Regions from separate parts of the Homo sapiens genome. Here all the other regions are linked to region 1. Evidence: promoter capture Hi-C in human tissues and cell types (Jung and others, 2019). All regions are on one chromosome and are shown on one strand. Each heading gives the region's core, a stretch centred on a gene start or on the middle of the fragment in contact. The rest is flanking DNA. Distances are from core to core; before and after follow the strand shown.

Region 1 (2,924 bases), core at 45-2,544:
TCCCAAAGTGCTGGAATTACAGGCATAAGCCACCTCGCCCAGCCTCCTGTTTCTTTCATCTATTAAAACTCCACTCTTAAACTCACTCCTTGTGTGTCCTCGTCCTTCAGTTTCTTTGGCGTGAGACGATAACCTCAGGTATTTACCTCAGACAACTCTGCTACTTCAGAAGTATTTACTTTATTAAATGAATATGATTTATTGTTTTGAAGTAAAATGTTTAAGGTATGCATGTATTTTTTATGATTTCCCACTTTAACTGATTTTTTTATTAAATGAAGAAATGGTCTCAATCACATTGGCTAACATGGCCTCTATTTATTTAATTCATCTGTTTTTCCCACTTTGGGGCATCAACAGCATGGAGTATTTGGAAAACTACTTGTATTTGTAAAGAGTAAAATGCAGTTTAACAAAGAAGTTAGTTTGTCATTGTATAGTTCAGGAACTCTGGCCTGGATGAGAGCATGAGTTTGAAATTTTGTCCTCAAGATTTTGTTTTTATCTTACCATCACCTTTTATGCTTAAGTTTATGATTGGCCATAATTATCAAATTGACACATTATGTCATGTGAAAATCTGTTTACCAAACTTTTCTATTAATAAACTTGATGTTTAATTGTAATATTAAGAGTCACAGAGTGCTGTAGATTCTGTTTGTCATAGTTGTGTAGCTTTTAGAGTTTAGGGAAATCTAGTTTTTAGAATTGACACAATGATTTTTAATTTTAGCAGTGTGTTGAATAACCTGTGATATACCATTCACTTATTAACTTCACATTGTTGTATAATAAGTTATAAATTTTAGATCAGATAAGAAAGTAAAACTGGTATTAATTTGGGAAGAAGAAATTGCAGAACTTGAGTGATTTTTCCAAATAATGTGTCAGCTGTAACTTGAATGTGTTATTTTTATCCCCAAGGGTATTTTGAAATATACTTATGTGAATTTCTTATAGTTTATTTTAACCATAAAACTATTTTGATATTTTTATAATGCCATCGATGATACTGTATGCATAGTGAGGGCATGGGTTGTCTGTTCTTACCACCATATTCCCAGCACTAGCATGGAACAAATGAATAAGAACGGAGTAAAAATGCATAATCTAAACTTGACTATGTGTGTCTTCAAAATAATACCTTTAAGTTATTTTGAAGGAAAAAACTATGTATCCAACAAATTCAAACAGATACTTACAAAATTAAGACGATTGTAAATGTGTGTTGTCCTCCTTCTCATTGTTTTTCACATCCAAAAATGTCCTCTTGGAGCCTCTTATCTGAGTAGCTTCTGTGGATCTGATGATGCTAGGATTTTATTTTTTCTTTTATTTTAAAGTTCTTCTGATTACATCATCTCTTTGTATAGACATCATTCTTGACAGATGGCATTTATTAAATATGGACAGTAGCAGGCAGTTAAAAAGACCTGCATGAGATAGGCAGGAACCTTTCTTTTTTCTTTCTGACTCTCAGAAGCAATACCAGCATTAGCTTTATTTAACTTCTAGATTAATTTAAAAAGAAACCTCTTTAAATTATGACTCAACAGGTACAGGGTGAAGTGGGGGAAATGTATGTGTGTTTTAAAGCTTCCCAAGTGATTTTGACCATCAGTTAAGTTTAGAAACCACTGATTACAATTAATTTCCTTAGAATTTGCTCATATATTTAATTCCAAAGAGGAAGAAAATTGAAATTTTAAAAAACATATGAGTATTTTTGGAGATGACATAACTTTCCTTTTATTGTGTTAAAAAAAGCTTTAAGAACTGTTTTTTTCTGCATTTTTATTAATTATCAAGATTTAGTGATGGTTTAGAGAGCTAAAAACACCTTTAGGGTGAATTCAGAAGATCTAGCAGATACAATGATGAAATATGATCAGCAAGCTTTAGGAGAGGATAACAAATGTGTGATTTTGAAATCTCTTCTATTTGAAACCAATCCAGAGTCTTGAATTTGATCCAGTATATAGTATGCTACAAATGGAAAGATTAAACTGGAGCAATATAATTAGGGTAAGCCATTGCATCTGCACTTGTATCGCAGCAACTGAATTTGAAACCAGCTGCAAAATGGTGACTAATCTCTCTGGCAAGCCCACATGAGAGTGTAGTACAATAAGCCAGCTTCAGCCTCATGAGCACATGTTTCTTCAACTTGCCTCTGAGCAGGTGATGGTGATGATGCAATCTGATTATACTTTTGAATGTATTCTAACCACAGTCAACAGTAGAGTCTCACAAGGGATTTCACAAAAGACTTCAAACCGACTGTATATTTTTCAGAGAGTTGAGCTATAGACAGCCATGGAAAGTAGTAGTTTTTTTTTTCACGTTAGTGACTACTGTACTTTGCAGTACTTTATAATCTTAAGTTTAGGAGGCTTTAGTTTTCATATGTGAACTGAAGATGAGAAGAATAATGTGGAAAGAAAGTACTTGTACTTGGAGCTTTTATTCTGAATTGTTCACAACAACTTACACTGATCAATTAAAATAATTAAATTGTCTAGACTATTTAATTCTGTACAAACAAGAGATGGTAAATCAGTGTACTGTGTTTAAGTGGTACACTAACCTTTCCATATTCAGAGAAGTACCTCCCTGGGTCTTGAACATTAAAGGTGTTTAATAAGTACTCAGTTTGACTTGGACTTGAGCCTTTATTTTTGAAGGGAATAAAGTTTCTTCTTCCAGTGTACCTCAGAGGGACTTGGTAAGCATGAATAAAGCCATCTGTTTGAAAATGTATGTCATTTTTGGAAAAGTGCTACAGAACCTAAAATACAGTCACAAGTATTATTTCAAATGTATAGTTCAGAAGTAGAATACTTAGAAATTGCTTGTTAATCTTAATTGTAAATAGCTAAAAAAAATATAGCTTGCAATAAAGGACACAAGAGCATTAAAATATA
Region 2 (2,862 bases), core at 140-2,639, 390 kb after region 1:
CACATTTCTCCACACTTGAGTGTTGCTGTGTGCAAGTACAATGCTAAAGTCTTTGGGGACATCAACTCAATCCTTGTAATGACTCCAAGTGGCAGGAAATGTTACTATTCCTATTTTATGGATGAGAAAACAAGCTTGAGAGGGTATATGACTTAGAGCAGGCGGAGCCCAGTTGGCCACAGATTTGTCTGGCTTCAGAGCAAACTTACCAACTGTCCTAAATGCTTCTCCTGGATGCTATCCCCAAAGGATGTACTTAATAACTAACTTCTGAAAAATGAAAATAAAAGCAGTCATGAAGGACAGGAGTTTTCCCTGTTTTTGCATTTGAATTGCTTTCTACAACTTTTAATTTCTAGCAAACACTTAAGAAGCATTGGCCTGGGAGTCAGTCCTGGAAAACCAAGACTAGTAACCACAGGAATGTGATTACTCGTCTTGGGTTTCCTTAACTTTAAACCTAGTTCTCCACGTCCCTTTGGTCTCCTCAGTTTCTTCACATAGATATGAGCAGGTTGGAAGCAAAAAGCTCTAGGACTCCTTTTGTGATTCCATGAAGTCAGCAGGAAGGTCAGTATTCTCAATGGGCCACTAAGAGCTCCAAGCTTCCAGCCCCAGTGCCTGCTGGGGAGTGGCCTCATGGCACAGGTGGGAGGCGCCTAATAGGGGGGTTTTTGGAAACCACTGCAGTTCTTTAACAACCCTGTTTCATAGCCCTCTGGAAAGACTGGAAAAGCATTTCCTGAAAGTCCTCCACTGGAAACTAGAGTGGCTGTCTTGTATTTTCCTGCCTAACATCCATTTTTTTTTCTTTCTCTAGTAACAGCATCCCAATTCTGCCTTAAGGAACTTTCTCTATTCTTGGTCCTTGAGGGTGAGACTCCAGTGCCTGAAAAGCTGGGCACACAGCCCATTTCCCACCATGACTACTATGGTTTGAATATATCCCCCAAAGTTCATGTGTTGGAAATTTAATTGCCATTGCAACAGTATTAAGAGGTGAGGCTTTAAAGAGGTGATTAGTCCAAAAAGGAGAATCTCCACCCCTTTCCCAGAAAACTCATGAATAATCCACCCCTTGTTTAGCATATAATCAGGAAATAACTGTAAGTATACTCAGTCAAGCGGCCCATGCCACTACTCTGCCTATGACTCGAGTAGCCATTCCTTATTCCTTTACTTTCTTTTTTTTTTTTTTTCTTTTGAGATGCAGTTTTGCTCTTTCACCCAGACTGGAGTGCAGTGGAGCAATCATGGCTGACTGCAACCTGCGCCTCTCAGATTCAAGCAATTTTCCTGCCTTAGCCTCCTAAGTAGCTGGGATTACAGGTGCCCGCCACCACGCCCAACTAATTTCTTTTAGTAGAGACGGGATTTCACCACGTTGGCCAGGCTGGTCTCAAACTCCTGATCTCAGGTGATCTGCCCACCTCAGCCTCCCAAAGTGCTGGGATTACAGGCGTGAGCCACTGCGCCTGGCCTCCTTTACTTTATTAATAAACTTGTTCTCACTTTACTCTATGGACTCGCCCCAAATTCTTTCTTGTGCATGAGGTCCAAGAACCCTCTCTTGGGGTCTGGATCAGGACCCCTGCCTGGTAATAATAGCACCATGCATAAGTCCTGCCTACAGGCCCACCGACGCCTCGGGCCGCCTCTGAGTAGATCACGTCTTTTTGGGAAAAACCACTGACAAAAAGTGCTGGTTCGTCCTAAGTTGGTGCATTTCTAATTCTGAAGCTGACGGGTGCTTTTCTCACTTTCCCAGAGCTCAAAAATCAACTTGATATTTCTAAAATTACATTTTGAAGGAAATGAATCTATAAGGTACACCAAAAGCCCAAGCCAGCTGGGGAAAGAAGAAAGAAGGAAAAAGAATTTTCTCTGGCTCCCTCCCTTAAATTTGTATATTCTTTAAATCTTGGCTGGGGGACAGGGAAGGGAGCCTGGCAGACCACCCCACCTGGATTGGCAGGAAAGCTTTCCAGGAATAGGTGCTCTCTAAATCGCCCCAAAGGGTTCAGTGCAACTGTGATTCAGACCAGGCTCTCATCATGAAATGAAAATGAGGGACATGTGGGAGTGTACAGGAAGAGGGTACAGGAAGTGTACAGGAAGAGGGTAGCGTACCTTTGTCTTCTTCATACCAGGGCCAGTCCTTGGGTGGCTGAGGAGGGTCCGGGAGGTGCGTCCTGGAAGAAGCCCTTTGGCCCCGCAGGCACGCAGGCCACTTAAAAAGAGAATCAGGCAGCAGCTGCTGCTGTTTAAACTGAAAAGGTGGTCCACCGGCTTTGCATGAGCCCGGATCAAAACACGCATATCAAAAGGGATCAAGATGCTGGCCAAGTGGATTGCAGTTAGAAAAGGGAATTGAATCTTTTGTTTTTTTTAAGGTCAAGAAAATATGGAGAGAAAATGCCTCCATGTGCAATTCTTTCCTTGTCCTTGTAGTGAAGCTTGTCCAGCTACCACAATCCTCTCCCCTCCACCCAAAGAGCAACTTTTAAATGCCACCTGTTAGTATTTAAAGTAATCCATTCAAAATAGATGAACCCCACCCCCTTTGCTGTCCCACCCTTTCCCCCACCAAGCTCTCTGGGCCTCTAGCCTGGACGGAGCGAGTCAGTGCCTCGTCCCTCATCTTCTTACTGTGGTTGCAGGGTTTTCACAGCTGCAAATGTGACCCAGGATGAAACCAGGACTGAGTCCACATTCCATGAAGGGCAGCTTGACTCCCCCAATCATTAATCCATTGCTGACGAGGTGACTGCAGGGTGCTGACTGCCGGAGAGACAGAGATTTGGAGAAACAGGGAGACTGTTCTTTGGGGTCATAGCACCTAGTGGTAGAGGCAGATACATA
Region 3 (2,876 bases), core at 98-2,597, 430 kb after region 1:
AAGCTTAACTGAGCTATAATTCAAATACCATAGAATTCACCTAACTGTTCAATGGTTTGCAGTACACAGTAAGTAGGTCCTTGAATAATGTCATTTTGTTATAATGTTGATGAGAAAAAAAAATGGATTTCCTGGCTCGGGGCCACTGTCAGGGTGGAGTTTGCACATTCTGCCCATGTCTGAATGGGTTTTCTCCTGGCTCCACTCCAGTTTCCTCCCATATCCCAAAGCTACACAAGTCAGGTGAATGTGCGATTCTACATGGTCCCAGTGTGAATGACCGTGGGGGTGTGTGTCGGTGCGACCTGCTACGGGGTGGCATCCTGTCTAGGACTGGTTCCCATCCTGTGTCCTGAGCTGCTGGGATAGGCTCCCACCATCCACCACCCTGAACTGGAATAAGCAGTTTGGAAAATGAACAAATGAATAAATAAAATTTATCATAAAAAATCCTTCAAGTATATAATCATACAGAAGCATGACAATAAACGCTGTGACAGAAAAGCACCCGGTGAGCCCACGGTATTTGTGATTGTGATTGAACTGCCTGGTGGCAGGCGGTGTCTTAGAATTTTTGCTTCACCAACGCTTATTCCTTAATTTAACCCACTACTGTTCTGACTCCCTGTCACTCACTGATCCACCAAGAATTGGGTAAAGAATTACCTTACCTTTTTTTTTAAACTTTTCTAAATGTACATATAACTTAGATTTATTTCAGTGTTAAATATTAGAAGTGTTTTGGGTCTTTATTTAGAAGCTTGGTGATGTTTTTGTGACCATAAATTGTTACATCGTAAGAACTTAACTCTTGATTGTATAATCAGCCTATGGTAAAATGGATTTCATTATACATTGTTTTGCTTAAAGTCACAGTTTCCCAAGAACAAACTGATGACAGTGAGGACATACTGTATTCACAGAGTGGGACGACCATCACCATAATCAATTTCAGGACATTTTCAAGGGACATCACCAAGACAGAATTTGTAGACCAAACGAAGCTAAATACTCTTTGATATAGCAAGGAAAAAAACAATAACACATATGGAACTTGTTTCTTACAAAAGATGGTATACATTGAAGATATAAAGGGGCTAAGGGGAACATTAAAAGATCATGGAGGAAAAAATCATAACCCCCTTTATCCCCCCAAATTAGTTCCTGGGTGTGACTGTCAGATACAGGATATTCTCTAGACTGCTCTCCCCGACGTTGGATCACAAACGCTCAACTCGGGGTAGAAGGTGCAGGTGAATTCTTCAAATTATTTTGAAGTCCACGACTCCATTGAAGTGCTTAACCCTATAGAACGCATAGAAGTCAGGGGTGACAATATTTTCTGTGTGACAGGAACACCTGCTCAGGCAAAATGAATCTAAGAGGCCTCTCTGACTATGTATAGACGAGGCAGCCATCAGATGAACCATTATTTCCAATTACCAGCTGATGGGAGCCACATACGAATCCACGTCCAGAAATGAAAACTCCAAAAACGTTCTGTTTCTAAACCCCAAACCCACTCAGTCTCTCATTAAAATTGCTCATGAAAATTGCTGTGTATTAGCAGCACACAGAGTCATACAAGACTGAAAGTTTCTTTGTGGAGGAAAGAATGTTTTTAGACTAAGAAACTTTTCTCTGTTAAGGCTGCACTAACATGCTAATGATTTCCATCCATGCTTAAATGGTTTCAGGAAGCACACACACAGTAGTATGTAAGATCAGCGTGACAGAGGAAACTCGCAGATCGAGCTTGCAAAAGTGTCTTAGAAAGGAAACAGCTTAATATAATAATGGGAGTTACCACTTCCTGTATTAGGAAAATAAAAGCAACAGCAACATTCATCTGAATGAATGCAAAACTACTTAGCAAAACAAATTTCACAGACACAAGGCCAGCAGCCAGTTCTAATAACCTAAATTTAATGTTTAACTTTGACAACTGAGTAGTATCTTCTCTAGCCTTTAATTACGACATCTAATTTTCTTATGCTACTTTCCATTAATTATATTGTATACATATGAAGGTGCCAAGTAATTGTCTATAAAAAAAATAAAAGTGTTCAAAATAGTGGGGCATGTTTAAAAAGTGCTGAATTCAGTTGGGTATGTGTATGTGTGTGTTTATACAATTAGAAGTACATGAAAATAAAAACAGAGGCCACAGTGATGTGTACTGGCCACATAATTCATGGACATTTAGCACATACGTACTCTCTTGCTCTCACCGTACACTTACAAATTTATAAAGACACTATATAAGAAACACTATTACTCTGTAACTAGAGGTAGCCTTGAATTGTACTGTATAAAAAAGTAAAATTAGAGAAAAATAATCACAATCATAAACAAGATAGGTAATATTCTTCTTTAAAAATAAGATAGAAAATTGATAATGACAAGGCACCATACTGTCCTGGAAACAAATGGACTTTGGAGATGGATCACATAGTGCTGTGGCATGGACATGGTCTCCACTCCTTGGAGGTCTTGGTTTACCCATGAGAACAATGGAGGTAATGACGAGTATTCGTCTTGTGATGCTGTGAGGATGAACTGAGAGGGTGCTTCTACACAGTACCAAGCTCATACCAAACACTCAAAACTTGCTTTCTTATCAATGACTTTTAAAGTTCTAAAGGGAATTAGATGTCTTAAGTGCTCCTCCTGTGGCAGGTACTGTGCTCTATGTTTTCTGTATCTCACTTAATCCTCACAAAACCCAGTTAAACCTTGTATTCCTGCTTTCCTGACAGGAAAATGGAGACTTGGAGAGGTGAACTGACTTGCTTCAGGCCTTTCGGCTATTACCAGGTAGAAGCAATATTTGAATCCGGGTCTTAAAAATTCTACAACTAGTTAAGAAATGGTAT

What was found. The method cuts DNA at HindIII sites, captures the fragments that hold promoters and counts their contacts. A contact is called where the count stands out against the background at its distance.
Region 2: a contact is called between a fragment that was not itself captured here and the fragment with the promoter of RPA3 in region 1, in 1 of the 25 tissues and cell types used here (spleen).
Region 3: a contact is called between a fragment that was not itself captured here and the fragment with the promoter of RPA3 in region 1, in 1 of the 25 tissues and cell types used here (H1 embryonic stem cells).

Annotation. Positions count from the first base shown.
Region 1 is chr7:7,717,313-7,720,236 of GRCh38, forward strand. It overlaps RPA3 (replication protein A3), which reads right to left and starts at 1,295. Exons shown (of 8, transcript NM_002947.5): 1 at 1,203-1,295. The region is part of intron 2 of UMAD1 (UBAP1-MVB12-associated (UMA) domain containing 1); the gene reads left to right. The HindIII fragment of the contact is 4,791 bases long and covers 1-2,565 here.
Region 2 is chr7:8,109,215-8,112,076 of GRCh38, forward strand. No RefSeq gene overlaps it. Among named protein-coding and RNA genes, the nearest start is that of GLCCI1, 140 kb to the left of the region's middle. The HindIII fragment of the contact is 4,002 bases long and covers 1-2,862 here.
Region 3 is chr7:8,147,730-8,150,605 of GRCh38, forward strand. All of the region lies in intron 8 of ICA1 (islet cell autoantigen 1), which reads right to left. Among named protein-coding and RNA genes, the nearest start is that of ICA1, 110 kb to the right of the region's middle. The HindIII fragment of the contact is 5,968 bases long and covers 1-2,876 here.